2 separate regions of the Homo sapiens genome follow, and region 1 is linked to region 2. The links are contacts of gene promoters, found by promoter capture Hi-C in blood cells and fetal thymus (Javierre and others, 2016). All regions are on one chromosome and are shown on one strand. Each heading gives the region's core, a stretch centred on a gene start or on the middle of the fragment in contact. The rest is flanking DNA. Distances are from core to core; before and after follow the strand shown. Region 1 overlaps ULK4 (unc-51 like kinase 4). Region 2 holds the start of ENTPD3 (ectonucleoside triphosphate diphosphohydrolase 3).

What was found. The method cuts DNA at HindIII sites, captures the fragments that hold promoters and counts their contacts. A CHiCAGO score of 5 or more calls a contact.
Region 1: a contact is called between a fragment that was not itself captured here and the fragment with the promoter of ENTPD3 in region 2, in 2 of 17 cell types (naive CD4 T cells and total CD8 T cells). The highest score is 5.8, in naive CD4 T cells.

Annotation. Positions count from the first base shown.
Region 1 is chr3:41,886,088-41,892,000 of GRCh38, reverse strand. The region is part of intron 16 of ULK4 (unc-51 like kinase 4); the gene reads left to right. Among named protein-coding and RNA genes, the nearest start is that of ULK4, 73 kb to the left of the region's middle. The HindIII fragment of the contact is 153 bases long and covers 2,409-2,561 here.
Region 2 is chr3:40,383,906-40,389,946 of GRCh38, reverse strand. It overlaps ENTPD3 (ectonucleoside triphosphate diphosphohydrolase 3), which reads right to left and starts at 2,763. Exons shown (of 11, transcript NM_001248.4): 1 at 2,686-2,763; 2 at 1,850-1,901. The coding sequence starts at 1,889. RefSeq lists a silencer at 2,743-2,842. The HindIII fragment of the contact is 3,169 bases long and covers 1,317-4,485 here.

The sequences.
Region 1 (5,913 bases), core at 1,236-3,735, 1.5 Mb before region 2:
TTTTTAATTAAAAACATAGTTTTCCTGTTTCTTTGCTGTAGTTCTTCTCTTGGTTGATTAGATTTTATCATTTGGTAGGTTTTTTTTTGTTTGTTTGAGACGGAGTCTCGCTCAGTCACTCAGGCTGGAGTGCAGTGGCACAATCTCAGCTCACTGCAACCTCTGCCTCCCGGGTTCAAGTGATTCTTCTGCTTCAGCCTCCCGAGTAGCTGGGATTATAGGCACCTGCCATCATGCCCGGCTAATTTTTGTATTTTTGTAGAGATGAGGTTTTACCGTGTTGGCCAGATGGTCTCCAACTCCTGATCTCAGGTGATCCACCTGCTCTGGCCTCCCAAAGTGCTGGGATTATAGGCATGAGCCACCGCGCCTGGCTGTTAGTATTTTTTGTTTGTTTTCAAGAAGGCCTCTCAGTGGCTTACCTCTGTGCCATGCTTTGGAGTTTGAGCTCTCTTCCTTGTACTAACTGTAGTTCTGTAGGACTTGTGGGTAAACCTTACCTTTTTTTTTTTTTTCCCTCTTCTGTGTGACTTGTTTGAGTTAGCTTTTCTTTTCATTTCAGGCCTGTAAATTTTACTAGATTGTCTCTAGGAATCTCTTTTTACTAATTTGCTCCTTCCTGCCTGCCTGCCTGCCTCCCTCCCTCCCTCCCTCCCTCCAGTCCCGTCTTGTCCCGTCCCTTCCTTCCCCGCTCCCGTCCCTTCCTTCCCCGCTCCCGTCCCTTCCTTCCCCGCTCCCGTCCCTTCCTTCCCCGCTCCCGTCCCTTCCTTCCCCCTCCCGTCCCTTCTTTCCCCGCTCCCATCCCTTCTTTCCCCCTCCTGTCCCTTCCTTCCCCCTCCCGTCCCTTCCTTCCCCGCTCCCGTCCCTTCCTTCCCCGCTCCCGTCCCTTCCTTCCCCCCTCCCGTCCCTTCTTTCCCCCTCCCGTCCCTTCCTTCCCCCCTCCCGTCCCTTCTTTCCCCCTCCCGTCCCTTCTTTCCCCCTCCCGTCCCTTCTTTCCCCCTCCCGTCCCTTCTTTCCCCCTCCCGTCCCTTCTTTCCCCCTCCCGTCCCTTCTTTCCCCGCTCCCGTCCCTTCTTTCCCCCTCCCGTCCCTTCTTTCCCCCTCCCGTCCCTTCCTTCCCCCTTCTGTCCCTTTCTTCCCCGCATCCCTTCCTTCCCCCCTTCCGTCCCTTCCTTCCCCCCTCCCATCCCTTCCTTCCCCCATCCCGTCCCTCCTGTCCCTCCTGTCCCTCCCGTCCCTCCCGTCCCTCCCGTCCCTCCTGTCCCTTCCTTCCCTCCCGTCCCTCCTGTCCCTTCCTTCCCTTCTTTTCTTTCTGTTTATTTTGAGACAGAGTCTTGCTCTGTCGCCCAGGCTGGAGTGCAGTGGCGCGATCTTGGCTCACTGCAACCTCCACCTCCCGGGTTCAAGGATTCTCCTGCCTCAGCCTCCCGAGTAGCTGGGATTACAGGTGTGCACCACCATGCCCAGCTAATTTTTGTATTTTTAGTAGAGATGGGTTTTCACCATGTTGGCCAGGCTGGTCTCAAACTCCTGACCTCAAGTGATCCACCTGCCTTGGCCTCCCAAAGTGCCGGGATTACAGGTGTGAGCCACGATGCCTAGCCTCTTCATCCCTCCTTTAGCTTTTATATTATTTCTTAGATTTCTTCCTATTTCATCCTTTTTCTGTTCCTGAAACCCCTACAGGATGGGTGTGGGAGTTTGTCTCTCTTGACTTTTCTTTTAAATTTTCTTTTGCTTTCTCACTTTCTCTTGTTTATTGAGGTATAATTCACATACCATAAAATTCACCATTTTAATGTGTACAGTTCAGTAGGTGTTAGTATATTGAAAGTTGTTCAACCATTGCCATTATCTAATTTCAGAACATTTTTCTCACCCAGCGAAACCCAGTACCCATTCTTCTCCAACCCCTGGCAACCACTCATCTACTTCCTGTTGGCTGATTTGCCTATTTTTGATATTTCATATAAATGGAATCATACAGTATGTGGCCTTTTGTGTCTAGCTTCTGTCATTTAGCATAATGTTTTCAAGGTTCATCTGTATTGTGGAATGTGTGAATACTTCATTCTTTTTATAGCTGAATAATCCTTGTGTGGCTATACCACATTTTGCTTATGTGGTCTTGATGGACATTTGGGGTTGTTTCCACATTTGGCTATTATGAATAATGGTGCGCTGAACATTTGTCTACAAGGTTTTGTGTGAACATACGTTTTTATTTCTCTTACAGTAGTGAGATTGCTGGATAAAATGATAACTCTGTGTTCAACCTTTTGAAGAACTGCCAAACTCTCTTTCTTATACTTTTGTTTTAGGTTCAGGGGTACATAATACAGATTTGTTATATAGGTAAACTCATGGGGGTTTCTTGTACAGATTATTTGGTCACCCAGGTACTAAGCTTAGTAAGTACCAATTGTTATTGTTTCTGATCCTCTCCCTCCTCCCACCCTCCACCCTGAAATAGGCCCCGGTGTCTGTTGTTCCCTCTTTGTGTCCATGCAAATTCTCTTCTTTTATTGCTCTTCCTTGACTTTATCTTTGAGCTCTCAAGCTTGGTATTTATCCCCACTCATTTTATTATTTAGGATTTCCAGTTAATTTTTTAATTTCAACAATCATATTTGAAAGGTTTTGTTCATTTTCTTTTTGTCTGATTGGTCCCTTTTCCTAGCTGCATATATTTGGTGTATCATATACTTCTGAATTTGAGATAAATATTAGGATTATAAAAATTCTCTTCTTGGGGCAGAATTTAGAATTAAATATTGTTATTAATATTAAAGGTTAAACATTAGGATTATATAATATAAGCCTGGAACCTGGACTTTGAAAAAAAGGGAACAAAATTAGGATTATAAACATTGTATTCTTACCTCTTGAACTTGTAGGTCACTTTTTCATCATGGTCCTGCTTTTTAATGCTGTTTATTTCTCAAATGCCTGGTGATCTCTGGTTCTTAGTTTATATTATGAATAAATGATTAAATTGATTGGTATAGAAGTTGGCAATGTGAGTTTCCTTTATGCTTGCCTAAGTCTCTTTCTCCAATAGCCTCTCCTTTAAATAAAGGGTTGGTATGTGGGTAGGTGGGGCCTGCTGACTGGTTGACTTTAATTTGGAATTCCAGCTGGCTGAAGATCAGGTAGGCAGGCTGGAGGCCTCTGCAATTGCCAGGGTGGGTTTTTCTTTGGAGTGGAGTTGGCTTTCCTCATTTACCCCTTCCCTGTTTCAGTATCTGGAGGACCACAGTCTCTGCTTCCCACATCCACACCTATGTCCCACCCCAAGGTGGATTGCTCACTGTAGGAACAATTTTCCACGTTTACCCCGGAGGCCAGGGCTGCAGGGTTTATTCTGTGTACCAAGGAAGGGTGATGGAAAAGAGGCAGGACCTGACTGACTAAACTGTTCCTTGTACAAGGACACAATTGTTCCTTGTGCAGTTGTAATCTGATGATTGTCCTGTGGCTCATTCTTGCTTTCTGTCTTAGTTTGTTCCAAGTCCTTGAGGCTTCCTTGGGAACGTCTGTCTACCTGTGATTCTTAGATAGAGGATTCCCTTGTTGGTTCTCTGTCAGTCTTAATTCTATCTATGCATGTCATCTGAGATTTTCTCAAACTTTCTAGTCCACTTTTAGCCTTCCTTTTTGTTTCTAGTTATCAGTTATCATTTAATAAAAAGAACTTGTATTTTAGAGACTCTAGAGGGATCAGAAAAGTGAGTGTCAAGTGTTTAGTCTGCAATCATTAAAGACAGAGAATGTCTCATAAGTTTAGATCTGTGTTACATGATTATGATTTATGGATGCTTTCTTTACCTTTCCCTTTTATTCTTTCTTTTGTTTCTTTTCCTTATTTATTTATTTTATTATTATTTTTAGAGACTCACTCTAAAAAAAATAGGGTCTCACTGTGTCCCCGAGGCTGGAATGGGACTACAGGTGCATGTTACCATGCCTGGCTAAATTAAAAACATTTTTTTTTTTCTTTTTGTGGAGACAGGGTCTCACTTTATTAGCCAGGCTGGTCTTGAACTCCTGGCCTTAGTGATCCTTCCATCTCATCCTCCTAAAGTGCTGGGGATTACAGATGTGAGTCACTTTACCTGGCCAAAGTTTTCATTTTTTAATATGATGTATAAGGTATATAGAAGTGCTTTTTTTTTTTTGAGACGGAGTCTTACTCTGTCACCCAGGCGGGAGTGCAGTAGTGGCATGATCTTGGCTCACTGCAACCTCCACCTCCTGGGTTCAAGCGATTCTCCTACCTCAGCCTCCCGAGTAGCTGGGATTGCAGGCGCCCACCACCACGCCCAGCTAATTTTTGTATATTTTAGTAGAGATGGGGTTTCACCATGTTGGCCAGGCTGGCCTTGAACTTCTGACCTCAAGTGATTCACCTGCCTCGGCCTCCCAAATGCTGGGATTACAGGCATGAGCCACCATGCCCAGCAGAAGTGCTTCTAATTTCACAAGTGTTTAGGCTTTTTGGTTTATATTTGTTATTTTTACTTTTCTCCTTTCACTACATCAAAATGAGTCCTGTATAATTTCTGCCTTAGGGAATTCTAATAATTCCAATATCTTTGTGGTCCAATATAAAGTCATTTTTAATGTATGCCATGAATGCAGTTAACTGTTAATATAGTAATAGTGGCTTGCTCATTCAGCACAAATTGTCATGACACAATGGTAATTTCTGCATGTGGATTATCTCCTGATTCTTAGAACAACATGAGGTACATATTATTATTGGTCCTACTTGTTGTGCCTACCAGGCATAAGAAAGATGAGTGATTATCCCAGGGTACTGTCTCCCTCGCCCCCAGTGGTGGGGCCAGGGCCAGGTCCAAGACTTTGAATTCAGAGTCTTAGACACCATCCTATACAGACTCCCACTGAGTAAGAGTGGTCACTGTTTGTAGGGTGTAGAGTTCGATAGATTCATCTGTTACTTTGACTTTGTAGTTTTATTTAGGATGCTTGAATGTGTGAATGTATTGATGAATGTATTCATTGTTGCCTTCTCTCTGTGCTTGGAAGAGAAGAAAATTGAAGTTTACCACTACTATGGGTTTACTTTTCATGCTTTGTTATTTGGTGTATAAAGATTCACACCAGGCTGGGCGCGGTGGCTCACACTTGTATCTCAGCACTTTGGGAGGCCGAGGTGGGTGGATCACGAGTTCAGGAGTTCGAGACCAGCCTGGCCAACATGGTGAAACCCTGTCTCTACTAAAAATACAAAAATGAGCTGGGCATGGTGGTGCGTGCCTGTAATCCCAGCTACTGGGGAGGCTGAGGCAGGAGAATGGCTTGAACCCAGGAGGCGGAGGGTGCAGTGAGCTGAGATTGTGCCACTCACTACACTCCAGCCTGGGTGACAGAGCAAGACTCCATCTCAAAAAAAAAAAAAAATTCACATTTTATATCTTCTGTACGTCATATGGTTTTTAGTTTAAAGGGAATCTTTTTCTCATGAGTTTAGCCTAATTCTACTGAGATTTACATTGGAAATCCTGTTTGCCTTTTGTTTGCCTTGTACAGCCTTACTTTTATGCACTTTTTTTCTACTAGTGTGTTCAGTTATTTTGCTTTTGATGTTGATATATTTATTCAACAAACTGTTCAGGTGTTACAGTGGCGATCGGGATACAGCCCTGCCTTCATGGATCATCTGGGCTGGTTGGGGAGACAGATAATAAACAAGTAAATGAATGAATAAGTAACTACAACATTTTAGTTTTGCTCTAATGTGGTAGCCATTAACTTCATGGGGGTTATTTAAATTAAAAATTAATAGTAGCTTCCACATTCAGCACATATTGTCAGACACAATGGTACTTTCTGCACATGGATTATCTCCTTTGATTCTTAGAACAACATGAGGTACGTATTGTTGTTG
Region 2 (6,041 bases), core at 1,514-4,013:
AGGAAGATCAATTGAACAGCAATTGGATAGATCCTGTCTTATTCCAGAACATTATTCCTAGATCATTATAACCTATGCTTTACCCCTCCATTATTTCTGTAAGCCATTTTCCCAGAAGAATAACAGGGCATGTCTATGCGCCCACGATATAATTAGATTCAGCCCCCAAATTCAGTCACATCACAACATTTGCTACAGGAGGGCAGTCACGCAGTAGGTCTTCATGGCTCAGAACAGCTAACTCTTTCCATCTCAACTGATTCCCCTGCAGTGTAGCTGCAGTCACAGACACTTCTTGGTGTCAAAGTTGGTCACTTAACACCTTAATCCTCCTACCTTGTCATTGAAAGTGTAAACTGGTACAGCATCAATGGAGGGCAACTTGTCAATATTTATGAAAACTGCAAATAAGCATGCCATCTGACTCACAATCACTCTTTTGGGAAGTTATCCCACAGAACTAGCTCCACATGTGTAAAATGACTTAGACACAAGGTTACTCATTACAGAATTGTGGGTAATAGCAATGGAAAGGAGAGCCAACTGCCATGGAGTTGACCTGCAGAGCATGTAAAGAGGTCCTGTATCACTTTTCTGTGATTCCAAATAAAAGTACAGGAACCAGTTAATCCACAGAGGCAAACTTTTGCATTAGCTTTCAAAGAATGCATTTGTCAGTGTTAGTTATAGAAGTTTAAGGGATTTTTTCCCTCTAACAAAATGGGGTAGAAATTTAATCTGCCAAGTTAAACTTGTCCTTTGGAAGGAATGTAACAGGTTAGTCTGTATGAGTGACGTTACAATCTGTGTTAACATTTCAAAGTGTTTTGGGGGAAAACCTAAAGATCAAAGGAAAACAGCTCCTCAAGTGCAATGTCCCTTTACAAAAATAAAAGTTCATATAGATTGCCCTTACTATCCTAAAATCATATCCTTTTGGAAGACAAGAATACCCAATTTAGGGGCATGACTAAAGAATGTCTATCCATGGGGGAGGAGTGTGTGATATGTATGCAGTTTCCTGACCACAGCTACGTGGCTGGCCTCCTAAGTCTTCTGTGTTTCAGCAGTTTTCAAGTAAAAAGCTATGATTACCTTAAGCAAACTCTTGTCCTTGCAGAAAAGCTTATTACAAAGCAAAATGGATGAGACCAGGTCTTACTCATTTAGGAAATGCAGCCTAGAGCTGTGCTGTCATTAGGGCTGGACAAACATGGTAATTGCAAGGTACCTACCTGAGCTTGGAGAAGCCAGAGCCTTCTGGGCTTCCACATGAGCAACTCCAAAAAGTGCTCTAGAGGCAGGCGGGGCAAGCTTAGAAGTGTGTGTGTGTGTGTGTGTGTGTGTGTGTGTGTGTGTGTCTGTGTGTGTGTGCCTTCCAGTGTGAGAAAATCCTGCACTTGTGCCTGCAGTATCAACCATAACAACACTGACTCACAGTGAGGGGTGGGGGTGTTGTAGGCACTGTGCCAGCAACATTTGGATGGGAATACAGGAAAGATCCAAGTACTGTACAATTGATCACAAAATCAACAATACAGTATTCTAAAGCAAACGTTACACACAGCTAGCTAAGGGAAACCACAAGGGCCAAATTAATGGATTATACAAACCGGAAAAACCATTTAAGTGAAACATGCATGTTAGTCCTTGTTTTGTGTGGCTTTGATGAAAAGCATTACTTTTATTTGAGGAATGCCGGTGTTGAAACCCAGCTGAGTACTGAGTCTCAAACCAATAAAGTTAAACAATCATTTGCAGGGGATATGGATGAAAAACTGTAGGCCGAAGCTGGGGTTCTCTTGCGATTTGGCAAAACCACGCTTGCTACCTGCTGAGAGATACTAACCTGCTTGCTCACATGGTTGGCGGGTCAGCACAGTGAACATCTTTTCTCCTAGCTGCAGGTGAGAGAATACAGGATGTCAGTAAGTCCACCGCCCCGGCCTCACAAGTTTAAAGAACGAGCCCAGGTTAAGACAAAACCCATTTTACTTCCTCCAAATCAAAACCTCATCCCGGGAAAGGTAAGCCGAACCCCAGAACTTCAGAGACAGCCCCAAAGCTGGAGCTTAAATTTCATGTCATCTCCCCAAATGAAAGGAAATGAAAAATGGATTTGCTGAAACTTCAAACTGAAAAGGTTTTCCGAAAAAAGGTCTTTTTCTGCAGATTGTTCCACCTGTACACACACCCAAGAGAGAACAAATCTTCCCCCTATTATTAACATTCACAAAGCTGAGGCGGGGCTTTTTTTCAGAACATGAGCAAGGAAGGTTTTTGTGTGTTCATGGATCGCGAGCCTGGAGCCTCTCTAAAGCCCCGGGAAGGGAGTCTTTAGCTGCTGGCTGGAAATTGCAAAGGGATGTCGGGGCCCTGGGATCCAGCCCCCACCAGGATCTGGGGTCACCTCTCTGGACTGCGTCTCTGCATAGCCGCAGGCATCTAAGCGCCCAGCACATCTGCGGATCCATGCAGGCTGTCGGTAAAGACGCGCCCACCCGTCGTGGGCATGACAGGGACCACCTCCCAGCCGCCCAAGGATTTGGGGCTACCGTGTTTCAGTCTCTTCCTCTGGCCCTCTGAGGAAATCCGATTTTGTTTCTTTGCCTCCCAACTCTCAGTCTCACGCAGCACCCCCGACTCCTTCCTCGGCAGCTCAGGCGCCGGGTCCCCTGATCTTACCTGTGCGGAGCCGATTCGGAGAAGGCGACTAGCGCTGCCGCAGAGGCGGCCCGCGGCCAGCGCTAAGGAGGTGTCAGCTCAGACGCCGGGAGGCGGCGCCGGGTATAGCGGGGCGGGGGCGGGGCGGCCTCGGCCTGGGACCGCCCCCCCCGTCCGTGTCAAGGCCAAGTACCTCTTCACCTTCTTTTCTGATTGCTCTCACCTTCACACCCAGCCCTCGATGGAAGGGGAAGGGAGAGAGAGCGCGCCTCTTGCCAAAAGACCGGCCCTGCCTGCCCAGAGAGCCTTCTGTCCCCCTCCAGGTCGAAGCCAAACAGCACTTCACCTTTCCTCTTTCAGTTCCCTCCACACTCACCTGTACCTGAAGTCGGAGAGGAGGGAGCCAGGCCTTGCCCTGAGAACCCACCGGAGCCTATGTGGGCGAGGGGGAAGGGAGGTGTCTATTATCTGCCTCCTTCTTGCATCTGTGTCAAGACCAAGAACCTTTTGATCTGTCTTCTAGTTACCTCCATTGTCACCCCAACCCTAGGTGGAGGGAAAATGGGGACAAGGCCAGGCAGGGACTGGGCACTCTGTGGGTGTGCATGACCTTATGTGGTCCCCCGGTGGGTGGCTCCTGTGCTCCGTCTCTCCACGGGGTGGAGTAGAGTCAAACACCTGTAATGTTGGGAGTGAGGCCAGTAGGCAGGCTGGCCCCTAGGTCACTTGGGCCTAAAGCACAAAGTATGGCAGGCACATTCCCTTTCACACTTAGCAGAACTGCCTTGGCCATGCCCAGGGCCATTCTTGCTGTTTACTGAGCAATGCTCTGCCCTACCCCATTTAATATGGATGTCATAAGGCCAAAAACTCAAGACAAGTACAGCCCGGAAGAGGCAAAACAGAAAAGATAACAAAAAGGCAGCATGTGGGCTGCCGTGATCCAAACACCCCAGGAGTCTGTCTCAGTGTACAGCAGCAGGCAGCCTCCCGGCTCCTCTGAGTGACCCCAGAGACCCTTGGAGTGATCCCAGCAAGAGGCCTAAGCAGGCCCTGTTTGACCATCCCTCCTTATGGTTCCTGCATGTCTGGAAGGAAGAGCTGAGTCCCTGGCTATACCCTGCCATAGCCTGCTTTCTCCTAGAAATCCACTAATTTTCTGTCCTGTGCAGGTGGGGCCAAAGCCCCTAAGACAAGAAGTCCTTAAGATAGGAATGCCCCTGCTTTGATACCTCTGAGCCCAGAGAGGTGGGCCCCAAGCCTGAGTTATGTGTGTGTGCCTGTGTGTGTGTGTGTGTGTGTGTGTGTGTGTGTGTGTGTGTGCCCGCGCGCAAGAGCACCATGGTCATTCACCCAGAGTTGGATAGAGGTGGACCCCATTGGGGGATTGGGACAGGGTCTGCACTGGGGGTGTCAGACATTCAGTGAATACTTGCTGAATTAAAAGACTTGTTTTCTTTGAAAGCTGTGGGACAATGAAACATAAGGCATATGGCTGGCAGCTGGGGGTCCGTCTGCACCCAGGGGGCTGTAAGTACACAAACAGCTGCTGGCAGTGCACCCGGACCTGAGCTCAGTTAGATAGCCCCAGTGGGTGAATGACTAACCTTAGCATCCCCAGTGACTTCCCAGGGGCTGGGAAAAGGTTTCCAGGCCTAATGGGCCTTGAAAGGCAGTTAGTGCTAGTGTATAAAAATAACAGAGATCAGTCCATGCCAGCTTTCCTCTCTGCTTGCATCAACCTACAGACCTTGTAAGTGTGAGCATCAGCCTCCTTTGAGAGCCCTGTAGTCTCCAATTCTCCTTTTATTTTTCCAAGCTTTTCTGGAAACTCTGCTCCAGGCACTGTGTCAAACTCCTTTGCAGCTTCCAAAGTAGACCTAGTCATTCAAAGGCATTTCCTCATCCACCTTCCACATGCAAGAACACACACACACACAGACACACACACACACTCCTTTGTGAGTTTTCCTGATTATAAAATAATACAGATTTGCCCACCAGCTATCAAAACATATTGTAAAGCCACAGTAATAAAAACAGCCTGGCTTGGGCACAGGAATATACTGAGAGATCTAAAGAACAAAAAAGATAGGCCACAACAGACTATTGGATATAGGATTATAAGATAAAGAACAGGTTGAAATAACATATTATTCAATAACTGGTATTGAAACAACTGGCTCATTTGGAAAAGGATTCTAATTACTCATCACCCACAAAAATAGATTTTAGGTGGTTTAAAAATTTAAATGTATAAAATAATTTGACATACTAAAAAATGTAGAAGAACATTTTTATCATCCTTGGGAAAGAACAGTCTCTTCTACTATGCAGTCAAAGCAGGAAGAGAAATAAAGTCAACAAATTTGAATCCATGAAAATGAAAAATGACTGAATAGAAAGACACCACCCACTGCAACCCCCCCCCACCAAAAAAAAGATAAATTCTCAGGAAATACCTAAGAATGTGACAGTAAAGAGTTTAAAACCGTAAGATATACTAAAGTCTATAGAAAAATATGAATATCTGAAATAGAAAATGGGCAAGTCACATGCATTGGCCAATTTACAAAAGAAATATGAATGGCTGACTAACATGGCAGAGATGCTTAATCTCATTATTTACCAAAAATTGTCAACTAAAACTTTGGTATATTTAAACAAGATTAAAAAAAAACTGATTAGACTTGATTAGCTTAGCAAAGTTTAAAAAGATCTAGGCCAGGCACAGGGGCTCACGCATGTAATCCTAGCACTCTGGGAGGCCGAGGTCAGCTGATCACCTGAGGTCATGAGTTCAAGGCCAGCCTGGCCAAAATGGTGAAACCCCGTCTCTACCAAAAAATACAAAAATTAGCCAGGTGTGGTGGTGCATGCCTGTCCCAGCTACTCAGGAGGCTGAGGCACGAGAATTACTTGAATCTGGGAGGTGGAGGCTGCAGTGAGCTGAGATGCTGAGATCATGCCACTGCACTCTAGCCTGGACTATAGAGCAAGACCCTGTCTCAAAAAAAAATAGCAATAATAATCAGTGGTGCTTGTGTTGGAGAAGGTGCCAGGAAACAGGCCCTCTTGAAGCATCTGATGCGTGCCATGTCCTCCCACTTCTCTAGACAATTTTGCTGGTTCCTGCTCCTTTCCTGGGAGTTTCTCAAGACTCAGTCTCCAGGATTATTTTCTTCTCATTCTGTATTCTTTTCCTAGGTAATCTCATCCATGCCTACGTCTTCTGTTTTATTCACAGAAGCTCTCAAATACAGGGTTCAGGCTTCCCCTCTTGATCTGTAGACCTAGAGAATTGTGTTTTTCATCTTTCAAGTGTCATATAGGCACCTCACATTTACAGGGTTTCAAGCAGAGCTCCTTATCTTCCC